Regions from separate parts of the Homo sapiens genome. Here region 2 is linked to region 1. The links are contacts of gene promoters, found by promoter capture Hi-C in human tissues and cell types (Jung and others, 2019). All regions are on one chromosome and are shown on one strand. Each heading gives the region's core, a stretch centred on a gene start or on the middle of the fragment in contact. The rest is flanking DNA. Distances are from core to core; before and after follow the strand shown.

Evidence for each region. The method cuts DNA at HindIII sites, captures the fragments that hold promoters and counts their contacts. A contact is called where the count stands out against the background at its distance.
Region 2: a fragment that was not itself captured here is called in contact with the fragment with the promoter of TWSG1 in region 1 in 1 of the 25 tissues and cell types used here (heart left ventricle).

Annotation. Positions count from the first base shown.
Region 1 is chr18:9,331,724-9,337,994 of GRCh38, forward strand. TWSG1 (twisted gastrulation BMP signaling modulator 1) reads left to right here and starts at 3,050. Exons shown (of 5, transcript NM_020648.6): 1 at 3,050-3,197; 2 at 5,470-5,629. The coding sequence starts at 5,507. It overlaps TWSG1-DT (TWSG1 divergent transcript), which reads right to left and starts at 2,746. Exons shown (of 3, transcript NR_183523.1): 1 at 2,414-2,746. RefSeq lists a silencer at 2,751-3,540 and enhancers at 3,338-3,838, 3,601-3,650. The HindIII fragment of the contact is 24,059 bases long and covers 1-6,271 here.
Region 2 is chr18:8,646,050-8,652,383 of GRCh38, forward strand. No RefSeq gene overlaps it. Among named protein-coding and RNA genes, the nearest start is that of RAB12-AS1, 13 kb to the left of the region's middle. RefSeq lists enhancers at 353-975, 976-1,598. The HindIII fragment of the contact is 8,267 bases long and covers 1-6,334 here.

The DNA.
Region 1 (6,271 bases), core at 1,800-4,299:
ACTTGGCTTCCCAAAGTGCTGGGATTACAGGTGTGAGCCACTTCGCCCTGTCAAATTTGTGTTGTTTTAAGCCACTAAACATGAGGTAATTTGGTAGAGCAGCTGTGGCTGGCTGAGAGACTCCACCCACTGACACATCTGTATCCGATTGAGGATTGGGAGTGAATCCTTTGAACTTTTCATTGAACCCTACTAAGAAGCTCTATCACATTGTTGTCAGACTCTCTCACTTGCAAAGATCAGAAAGTCTTCTGGTGAAATAAAATAGCCACTGCAGTGACCCCCGTGGCTCCCAGATTCCCAAATGGCCAACCATTTGAGATCCGGAACCACTTGATATTCACCTGAGGGCTCAACTACCATTTGACCTTCCAGGTCCTGTCAAAGAGGATCTTTAATTTAAATGAAAAATAACTGTGTTACTTTTCTTATTATCAAATTAATACAAGCAAAGACATCAGAAAATGCAGACAAGCAAAAAGAAAAAAACATCATTAACAACAGACAACACTCCATCTCACTGAGATAACCACTAATACCATCATTATCTTTCCAGCACTTTAAAAATAACTCTAGTCCGGGCACCGTGGCTTGCACCTGTAATCCCAGCACTTTGGGAGGCCGAGGTGGGCAGATCACCAGGTCAGGAGTTCAAGACCAGCCTGGCCAACATAGTGAAACCCCATCTCTACTAAAAATACAAAAAATTAGCCGGGCGTGGTGGTGTGCGCCTGTAATCTCAGCTACTCGGGAGGCTGAGGCAGAAGAATCTCATGAACTCGGGAGGCGGAGGTTGTAGTGAGCCGAGATGGCAGCGTTGCACTCCCGCCCAGGTGAAAGTACAAGACTCTGTCTCAAAAACAAACAAACAACAACAAAATTAATTATTCAAAAACTATGCAGTACTTTAAAATTTTTTATGTATCATGAATATCTCTAGTCGCAATATTCATCTGCAACACTAATTGTCATAGTGTGATCTGGGGCTGCTAGGGAGGGATCCCAAGACATTTTCAGGAGGTTGTGAGCTCAAAATTATTTTAATTTTAATTCTAAGGCATTATTTGACTTTTCACCCTCATTCTCTCACAAGCAGAAACTACATAATACATGATACTGCAACAGTTTGAATACAGAAGCAGATATAAAAACAGTGGCTATTAAGTTTGATGTTAAAGGCAATAGCAAAAATCTAAAACCACGCTGTTCTTCCTACTGTTTTAAAATATATACTTATTTTTCATTAAATATTTGTTATCATATAATGGGTTTGTTATTTTTAAATGAAATAATGAATATGTAAAAAATTGTTTTAATTTTGAAAGTATTAACAGATGTAGCACACATACACAAAACCTCTTTGGCATGCTCCATAATTTTCAGGAGTGTAAAGGGATTCCGAGACGAAAAAGTTTGAGAACCTCTGATCTGCGGTATCACTTTTTAATGGCTGAATTAGTGCATTGATCGGAAGTTTCCTAATTCACTTAACTAGTATATAATGCCAAGAATAAGATTCTTATACTTAAATTTGGGTATACCCTTAATTATTTCTCTAGGATAATTTTCAAGGATGATTTTTAAAACCCATATTTATTGTACAAAAGTGGGCTAACATCAGTAATGCAATCCACCCCCAGCCAATCAGCTGTTTTCATTCTGTTTCCTTCCAATCAACAAAGGTGGGTGGTAGGCATTTACGATTTACCAGCATAAGGGTTTGACACTAGGTCATCATTTCCAAGGGAAGGTGCCCCGCGGACGGTCTGGTCTAGCGGGCTCTAACTTAATCACCCTGGAATCTTCTTTAAAAAGCAAATTCCGGCCGGGCACTATGGTTCACACCTGTCATCCCAACGATTTAGGAGACCGCGGTGGGAGGATCGCTTGAGCCCCGAAATTTGAAACCAGCTTGGGCAACATAGCAAGACCTCCATATCTACAAAAAAATAAAATATTAGCCAGGCGTGGTGGTGCGCGCCCGTAGCCCCAGCTACTCGGGAGGCTGAGGCGGGAGGATTGCTTGAGCCTAGGAGGTGGAGGCTGCAGCGAGCCTGATGTTGTCACTGCCCTCCAGCCTGGTGAGAGTGAGACCTTGTCTCAAAAGAAAAAAAAAAAAAAGCAACCCAGAGTTGTGGGAAAGAACTGAGTGTCATTCTCAATGTTTTTAACCTACGTGCTAACCGCGCACCTTCTACCTAGGCTGCGCGACCTCCGCGCCCGGATCCATGGCGCCCCCTCTTCTCGACTCCCGATGCAGAGCTCCGATGCAGAGCTCAGCGCCAGCCACTCACAAGGAGCCTGGCAAGTTTTATCGAATTGGTGAACGAAGTTCGAAAGCTCTACCCTTGGAGATCCTTATTCAGTAGGTCTGAGGTAGACCTAGGAAACGCGCATTTTATATAAATCCTACCTCTGACGGCAAACGACAAGGGGTTCACGTGCCAGCTCTCCTCGGCGACGCGCTAGGCTACTCAGCGCCCCGAGCCTCGGCCTCGCATCGCTAGAACCCGGCCATGGCCGCTTCCTTACAGGGCAGCTGTGAGGAGTCCTGAGGAATTTTAGTACACGGCATATCCTCAGCGTAGTGGCTAGCACATCACAAGGCTTTAATCTTAACACTGTTGATCTTAACACTGCAACTGAGGGGGCCCGGAGAATGGGCCTGACAGGAGGGTCTGTCGGAACCTGAGGGACTGGGGATCCCGGTGCGGAGAAGCGCGAAGGGAAATCGCGTTGAGCAGCTGGGGTGGGTGCGCCTGGGGGCGTGGCCTGCGGGCCGGCGGGCGGGCGGGAGCCTGCGGTGGAGGCGTGGCACGAGGGAGGGGCGAAACCGGGTGGCGCGGAGGGGGCGTGGCGTTGGGAGGGGCGGGGGGAGTGGGCGGGGCCGAGATGGGGGCGTGCGCGCTGACAGGAGCGCCGGGGGAGTGAGAGACGCCTCCTGGCGGGAGCTGGCGGCTGTGGACCCCAGCGGGGGCGGAGGGGAAGAGGGGAGCAGGGGCGGGGAGCAAGGAGCCGGGAGGAGGGCGGCGGGCGGGCCTGTCTCTTTAAGGTGCCCGAGGCTCGCGGGCGCTGCGCTGAGGGGACGGCGGGAGGCGCGGCCTGGCCTCGCACTCAAAGCCGCCGCAGCGCGCCCCGGGCTCGGCCGACCCGGCGGGGATCTAGGGGTGGGCGACTTCGCGGGACCGTGGCGCATGGTGAGTGGGAGCGGCTGGGGGGTTGTGCAGCCTCTTGGCCTCTTGGTTGGGAAGGGGCCGGGCGCCGAGCTCGGCCCTCTAGAGGCCCGGGGCCGCGGCGAGCTTCGCGGGGGCCGGGAGAAGCCTGGGCCCGGCTGCGCGGAGGACAAAGTGGGGGTGCTGGGCGCGGGCGCACAGGCCGGACGCCGGGAGCCAGCAGCATCTCTGCGCCGCTTTGGTCCAGACCATCTCTGGGCCGGCCCGCGTCCTCCGCAGCCCGCGTCGGCCGAGCCGGGGTGGGGGTGGTTCCGGGTGCCCGGTCCCCCACACCGCTACCGGCCTCTGCCTCGCGGGGCGTCCGGCGCCTTCGGGGCCCTGGCACCGCTCTACAGAGGCTCGGCTCTGCCCTGGTCGCTGTCAGTGCCATCTCCCTTAACGAGAAACTTGGGCGTGATGTATGCGAAACAATTTTGATGCATGATGGTTTCTAACTCCTTAGGAAAAGATAAGTCCTTTAATTCTATTACCTGATTTCGACATGGTCGTAGTTACTTGAATACTTTTTCCAGTGAAATTTGGGGAGTAAGATGAATTTGTGGAACATTTCATAAGACAACCGTAAAAGATGGGAAAGGGGGGAAATCCCAGTTTTCATGGTTGTAGGATGAAAACTAGTTCCACGACAGTTAGTCTCCAAATAACCTTATTTGGCCTCCGCAAATATGTACTGGTTGCTCCAGAAATCATCCTACTTGGTATGCGGCGTTAGATACATTAGAAAATTAGTTACTAACGGTCTTTAGGGAATGCTTTGTGAGCCTCAGTAACGATCACCAGGGTTTTCTCTTTCAAAATTGACTCATACCAGGTCCAAAGCCCTTTATTCTTTTCACCCTTTTATTATTTTTCCTTTAATGTACTTTGTAACACTTAGAATAAAAGTTTAGAGTAATCATAAATGCCCCCATAAACTCACTATTTATCCCTCTTACGTCAGTAGTCATTTATTTTAATTTATTATGTTTGATAGGGAGGTGTTTTAACCTGAAGAAATGATATCTTCCCGTATTTAAAGTTTAATAACTGTATACTGTTTGGCCCCTGTCAGACTGTGTTTGTGCTAGTCTTTTTTCCTTCTTCTTTTTGAACTGTAGTATCTTCTTAATAACTTTGAAGAATGTGTGGTACTAATAGAATTAAAAGAATATCTTGGCCGGGCGCGGTAGCTCACCCCTGTAATCCCACACTTTGGGAGGCCGAGGCGGGTGGATCACCTGAGGTCAGGAGATCGAGACCAGCCTGGCCAATATGGTGAAACCCCGTCTCTACTAAAAATACAAAAATTAGCGGGGCGTGGTGATAGGCTCCTGTGATCCCAGCTACTCGGGAGGCTGAGACAGGAGAATCGCATGAACCCGGGAGGCGGAGGTTGCAGTGAGCCGAGATTGCGCCACTGCACTCCAGCCTGGGCGACAGAGCGAGACAACGTCTAAAAGAAAAAAAAAAAAAAGAATATCGTCACATTCTAATAATTACCTAGAGTTTTTAATGCAATTAGTAATTAAACAGCCTTTTGTTATTTGCTCAATTATTTAAGAAGTGACTCTGTGGACTCTACTTCTTGCTTTGAGCTGCTTTATTCTGTCTAAATAAGCCTGAATAATTTCCATTTAAAATTTTGTTTTGATTCTAAGAATTAAAATTAAATATCTTAAAATTATAATACAATATTAATAGTTTTATATGGGCTTACAGTTGAATAATGGACCTAAAATTAAAGTTGAATAGTAGCAGTGCAGTATTGAAGCTAGTTATTTGCCTGATATACTCTCAAGTTACTGAGGGTTTAGATATACTCACTCTACTTTCACAGTCACCATTTCTGGATAGTCTGAGGAACTGTAGAGTTCTAGGTCCTTGAAGATGGCTATGAAGCCATTATTATACAAAATTATTGTTTATTTTTGAATGTTTATATAATCTTTCATTGAGAATGATCTTTAAATGATCACTCAAAAGTTTTTTGAAGGCCAGGCATGGTGGTATTGTCTGTAGTCCCAGATAACTGGGAGGCTGAGGTGGGAGGATCACTTGAACCCAGGAATTGAAGGCTGCAGTGAGCTATGATCACACCACTGTACTTCAGCCTGGGCAACAGAGCAAGACTCTAAAAAAGAAAGAAAAAGTATATTGACACAAACAATGAGTCTTAGTTTATGTTTTGTTTCTCATTTTTATATTTGTTTTTACCCTAGCACTTGCCTTTGAATTAAAGTTGTGTTTGTTTGTTTAGTTTCCTGGGAGTTACTGATCATCTTCTTTGAAGAAACATGAAGTTACACTATGTTGCTGTGCTTACTCTAGCCATCCTGATGTTCCTGACATGGCTTCCAGAATCACTGAGCTGTAACAAAGCACTCTGTGCTAGTGATGTGAGCAAATGCCTCATTCAGGTAGGACTAAGAGTACTTTTATTAATATCAAAATATATTGTAGAGCAGAAACATTATGTTTATATACAGATATAGAGTGCATATATCATATAGAGTAAGACCTGAGTATTGGGTCAGGGCCTGAGGTACTGAATCATGACACACAGGTCTGGATTTTTACCCTCATAGCAATCAATATATATAGGCAAGGTTAGATTCAAGAAGTTCAATACTGAGTATAATATCCTGTTGTATAAACATGTCATTACAAGGTGATGAGCACTCTATTCAGATGATTTAATCTGTGTAATCTAATTAACATAGCAAAGAGGTTCAATGAATGTATTTAGAAAAAAAATTAGCTGGTCAAATAATAGATAAATTGTTACCCTAAGTATGATGTATTAGTTGTCCATTGCTATGTAACAAATTACCCCAAAACATAGCAACTTAGTGCAATAAACATGTATTATTTCATGCAGTTTCTGAGGGCCTGGAATCTGGGAGCAGTTTAGCCAGGTGGCTGTGGCTTAGGGTCTCCCACAATGTTGCAGGCAAGTTGTTGGCTGGGATTGGACAATCTGCTTTCAAGATACTTCGAAGTTATATCTCTTCCAATCATCAAGGCAGGCCTCTTAATGTAGCCACCACTCTCATTTTTCT
Region 2 (6,334 bases), core at 2,326-4,825, 690 kb before region 1:
GGTGAAGATGTAGAGAATTTGGAACTCTTATGTATTGCTAAGTGGGATATAAAATAGTGTAGCCACTGTGGAAATTGTATGGTGATTCCTCAAAAAATCAGGTATAGAATTACCATATGACCCAGCAATGTCACTTCTGCGTATATACCCAAAAGAACCGAAAACAGGTACTCAAACAGATATTTATACATTCATGTTCATAGCAGCATTGTTCAAAATAGCCAAAAGGTGGAAACAAAGAAAGTGTCGATTGGTGGATGAATGGGTAAACAAAATCTGGCATGTACATACATGTACGATAATTAATGGAATATTAACTATTCAGCCTTAAAAAGAAGCAACTTTTCTTTCTTTCTTTTTTTTTAATTTTATTTATTGGGTGGCTCACGAGATGGCTGAATAGGAACAGCTCCAGTCTGCAGCTATGAACGAGATCAATGCAGGAGGCAGGTGATATCTGCATTTCCATCTGAGGAACCCAGCTCATCTCACTGGGACTGGTTAGATAGTGGGTGCAGCCCCTGGAGGGCAAGCAGAAGCAGGGTGGGGTGTCACCTCACTCGGGAAGCACAAGGGGTCAGGGAACTCCCTCCCCTAGCCAAGGGAAGCCATGAGGGACTCTGCCATGAGGAACAGTGCATTCCGGCCCAGATACTATGCTTTTCCCATGGTCTTTGCAACCTGCAGACCAGGAGATTCCCTTGGGTGCCTACACCACCAGGGCCCTGGGTTTCAAGCACAAAACTGAGTGGCTGTTTGGGCAGACACTGAGCTAGCTGCAGCTTTTTTCATACTCCAGTGGAGCCTGGAATGCCAGTGAGACACAACCATTCACTCCTGTGGAAAGGGGGCTGAAGCCAGGGAGCCAAGTGGTCTAGCTCAGCAGATCCCACCCCCACGGAGCCCAGCAAGCTAAGATCCACTGGCTTGAAATTCTTGCTGCCAGCACAGCAGTCTGAAGTCGACCTGGGGCATTAGAGCTTGGTGGGGGGAGGGGTGTTCACCATTACTGAGGCTTGAGTAGGCAGTATTCCCTTCACAGTGTAAACAAAGCCCCTGAGAAGTTTGGACTGGGCGGAGCCCACCGCAGCACCGCAAAGCCACTGTAGCCAGACTGCCTCTCTAGATTCCTCCTCAATGGGCAGGGCATCTCTGAAAGAAAAGCAGCAGCCCCAGTCAGGGGCTTATAGATAAAACTCTCATCTCCCTGGGACAGAGCACCTGGGGGAAGGGGCGGCTGTGGGCGCAGCTTCAGCAGATTTAAACGTTCCTGCCTGCTGGCTCTGAAGAGAGCAGCAGATCTCCCAGCACAGTGCTCAAGATTTGCTAAGGGACAGACTACCTCCTCAAGTGAGTCCCTGACCCCCATGACTCCTGACTGGGAGACACCTCCCAGCAGGAGTCGACAGACACCTTATACAAGAGAGCTCCAGCTAGCATCTGGCAGGTGCCCCTCTGGGAGGAAGCTTCCAGAAGAAGGAACGTGCAGCAATCTTTGCTGTTCTGCGGCCTCTGCTGGTGATACTCAGGCAAACAGGGTCTGGAGTTGACCTCTAGCAAACTCCAGCAGACCTGTAGCAGAGGGGCCTGACTGTTAGAAGGAAAACCAACAAACAGAAAGGAATAGCATCAACAGCAACAAAAAGGACATCCACAAAAAAAAAAACCCATCCAAAGGTCACCAGCATCAAAGACCAAAGGTAGATAAATCCACGAAGATGAGGAAAAACCAGTGCAAAAAGGCCGAAAACTCCAAACACAAGAACACCTCTTCTCCTCCAAAGGATCATAACTCCTCACCAGCAAGGGAACAAAACTGGATGGAGAATGAGTTTGATGAATTGACAGAAGTAGACTTCAGAAGGTGGGTAATAACAAAATCCTCTGAGCTAAAGGAGCATGTTCTAACCCAATGCAAGGAAGCTAAGAACCTTGAAAAAAGGTTAGAAGAATTGCTAACTAGAATAACCAATTTAGAGAAGAACATAAATGACCTGATGGAGCTGAAAAACACAGCACGAGAACTTTGTAAAGCATACATAAGTATCAATAGCCGAATCAATCAAGCAGAAGAAAGGATATCAGAGATTGAAGATCAACTTAATGAAATTAAGCATGAAGACAAGATTAGAGAAAAAAGAATGAAAAGGAACAAAGCCTCCAAGAAATATGGGACTATGTGAAAAGACCAAACCTGCGTTTGATTGGTGTAGCTGAAAGTGACAGGGAGAATGGAACCAAGTTACAAAACACTCTTCAGGATATCTAGGAGAACTTCCGCAACCTAGCAAGAGAGGCCAACATTCAAATTCAGGAAATACGGAGAACGCCACAAAGATACTCCTCAAGAAGAGCAACCCCAAGGCACATAATCATCAGATTCAGCAAGGTTGAAATGAAGGAAAAAATGTTAGGGGCAGCCAGACAGAAAGGTCGGGTTACCCACAAAGGGAAGCCCATCAGACTAACAGCAGATCTCTCTGCAGAAACCATACAAGCCAGAAGAAAGTGGGGCCCAATATTCAACATTCTTAAAGAATTTTCAACCCAGAATTTCATATCCAGCCAAACTAAGCTTCATAAGCGAAGGAGAAATAAAATCCTTTACAGACGAGGAAATGCTGAGAGATTTTGTCACCACCAGGCCTGCCTTACAAGAGCTCCTGAAGGAAGCACTAAATATGGAAAGGAAAAACTGGCACCAGCCACTGCAAAAACATTCCAAATTGTAAAGACCATCAACACTATGAAGAAACTGCATCAATTAATAGGCAAAATAACCAGCTAGCATCATAATGATAGGATCAAGTTCACACATAACAATATTAACATAAATGTAAATGGGCTAAATACCCCAATTAAAAGACACAGAGTGGGCCAGGCACAGTGGCTCATGCCTGTAATCCCAGCACTTTGGGAGGCTGAGGTGGGTGAATCACCTGAGGTCAGGAGTTCGAGACCACCCTGGGCAATATGGCGAAACCCTGTCTCTACTAAAAATACAAAAAATTAGCTGGACATGGTGGCATGCACCTGTAATCCCAGCTACTCAGGAGGCTGAAGCAGGAGAATCACTTGAACCGGGGAGGCAGAGGTTGCAGTGAGCCAAGATCACACCACTGTACTCCAGCCTGGTGATGGAGCAAGACTCCATCTCAAAAAGAAAAAAAAGCAAACAAGCAAGCAAGCAGTGGGAAAGCAAGGAAGCAGTGGTTTCTGCCCATAGGCAGAGACCCCAACAATAGGTGAGAGGAAGTGAGGGCTATGGGCTGGGAGACAAGAGTGAAACTCCGTCTCAAAAAAAAAAGTCACACACTGGCAAATTGGATAAAGAGTCAAGACCCATCAGTGTGCTGTATTCAGGAGACCCATCTCATGTGCAAAGACACACATAGGCTCAAAATAAAGGGATGGAGGAATATTTACTAAGCAAATGGAAAGCAAAAAAAAAAGCAGGGGTTGCAATCCTAGTCTGATAAAACAGACTTTAAACCAACAAAGATCAAAAAGATAAAGAAGGACATTACATAATGGTAAAGGGATCAATGCAGCAAGAAAAGCTACCTATCCTAAATATATATGCACCCAATACAGGATTACCTAGATTCATAAAGCAAGTTCTCAGAGACCTACAAAGAGACTTAGACTCCCACACAATAAAATGGGAGACTTTAACACCCCACTGTCAATATTAGACAGATCAACAAGGCAGAAAATTAACAAGAACCAATGACAGAAACCACACGATTATCTCAATAGATGCAGAAAAGGCCTTTGATAAAATTCAACACCACTTCATGCTAAAAACTCTAGCTAAACTAGGTATTGATGGAACATATCTCAAAATAATAAGAGCTATTTATGACACACCCACAGCCAATATCATACTGAATGGGCAAAAGCTGGAAGCATTCCCTTTGAAAACCGGCACAAGACAAGGATGCCCTCTCTCACCACTCCTATTCAACATAGCATTGGAAGTTCTGGCCAGGGCAATCAGGCAAGATAAATAAATAAAGGGTATTCAATTAAGAAAAGAGGAAGTCAAATGGTCTCTGTTGTATATTTAGAAAACCCCATCACCTCAGCCCAAAATCTCCTTAAGCTGATAAGCAACTGCAGCAAAGTCTCAGGAAACAAAATCAATGTGCAAAAACCACAAGCATTCCTATACACCAATAATAGACAAACAGAGCCAAATCGTGAGTGAACTCCCATTCACAATTGCTACAAAGAGAATAAAATACCTAGGAATCCAACTTACAATGGATGTGAAGGACCTCTTCAAGGAGAACTACAAACCACTGCTCAAGGAAATAAAAGAGGACACAAACAAATGGAAAAACATTCCATGCTCATGGATTGGAAGAATCAATATCATGAAAATGACCATACTGCCCAAAGTAATTTATAGATTCAATGCTATCCCCATCAAGCTACCATTGACTTTCTTCACAGAATTAGAAAAAACTACTTTAAATTTCATAAGAACCAAAAAAGAGCCTGTATGGGCAAGACAATCCTAAGCAAAAAGAACAAATCTGGAGGCATCACATTACCTGACTTCAAACTATACTACAAGGCTACAGTAACCAAAACAGCATGGTACTGGTACCAAAACAGATATATAGATTGATGGAACAGAACAGAGGTCTCAGAAATAACACCACACATCTACAACCATCTGATCTTTGACAAACTTGACGAAAACAAGCGATGGGGAAAGGATTCCCTATTTAATAAATGGTGTTGGGAAAACTGGCTAGCCAAATGCAGAAAACTGAAACTGGACCCCTTCCTTGCACCTTATACAAAAATTGGATGGATTAAAGACTTAAACATAAGACCTAAAGCCATAAAAACCCTAGAAGAAAACCTAGGCAATACCATTCAGGACATAGGCATGGGCAAAGACTTCATGACTAAACCACCAAAAGCAATGTCAACAAGAACCAAAATTGACAAATGAGATCTAATTAAATTAAAGAGCTTCTGCACAGCAAAAGAAACTATCATCAGAGTGAACAGGCAACCTACAGGATGGAATAAAATTTTTGCAATCTACCCATCTGACAAAGGGCTATTATCCAGAATCTATAAGGAACTTAAACAAATTTACAAGAAAAAAACAACCCCATCAAAAAGTAGGTGAAGGATATGAACAGACACTTCTCAAAAGAAGACAATTTATGTGGTCAACAAACACATGAAAAAAAAGCTCATCATCACTGGTCATTAGAGAAATGCAAATCAAAACCACAGTGAAATATCATCTCATGCCAGTTAGAATGGCGATCATTAAAAAGTCAGGAAACAACAGATGCTGGAGAGGATGTGAAGGAATAGAAATGCTTTTACACTGTTTGTAGGAGTGTAAATTAGTTCAACCATTGTGGAAGACAGTGTGGCGATTCCTCAAGGATCTAAAACAAGAAATACCGTTTTACCCAGCAATCCCATTATTGGGTATATACCCAAAGGATAATAAATCATTCTACTATAAAGACACATGCACATATATGTTTATTGCAGCACTATTCACAATAGCAAAGACTTGGAACCCACCCAAATGCCTATCAATGATGGACTGGCTAAAGAAAATGTGGCACATATACACCATGGAATACTATGCAGCCATAAAAAAGGATGAGTTCATGTCCTTTGCAGGGACATGGATGAAGCTGGAAACCATTATTCTCAGCAAACTAACACAGGAACAGAAAACCAAACACCACGTGTTCTCACTCATAAGTGGGAGTTGAACAATGAGAACACATAAACACAGGGGTGGGAACATCAAACACCAGGGCCTGCCACAGGGTGGCGAGCTAGGGGAGGGGTAGCATTTAGGAGACATACCTAATGTAGATGAGGGGTTGATGGGTGCAGCAAACCGCCATGGCATGTGTATACCTGTGTAACAAATCTGCACATTCTACACATGTACCCCAGAACTTAAAGTATAATAAAAAAATTTTAAATTAATTAAAATTGAATAATGTATTTTAATTTATTAAATAAAACTTGAACTTCAAAAAAAATTATTTTTATTTATTTATTTATTTATTTATTGAGAAGGAGTCTCAGTGGGTTGCCCAGGCTGGTCTTGAACTCCTGGCCTCAAGTGATCCTCCCACCTCGGCCTCCCAAAATGCTTGTTACAGGTGTGAACCATCATGCCCAGCGAAATTAACACAACCGATAAGCCTCTAGCCACACTCACCAAGAAATACAGAGAGAAGACGATTATCCATAACTGAAATGGAAGAGGAGAAATCATTACAGGCACTGAAGAATAATAAGGAGGCCAGTTGCAGTGGCTCATGCCTGTAAT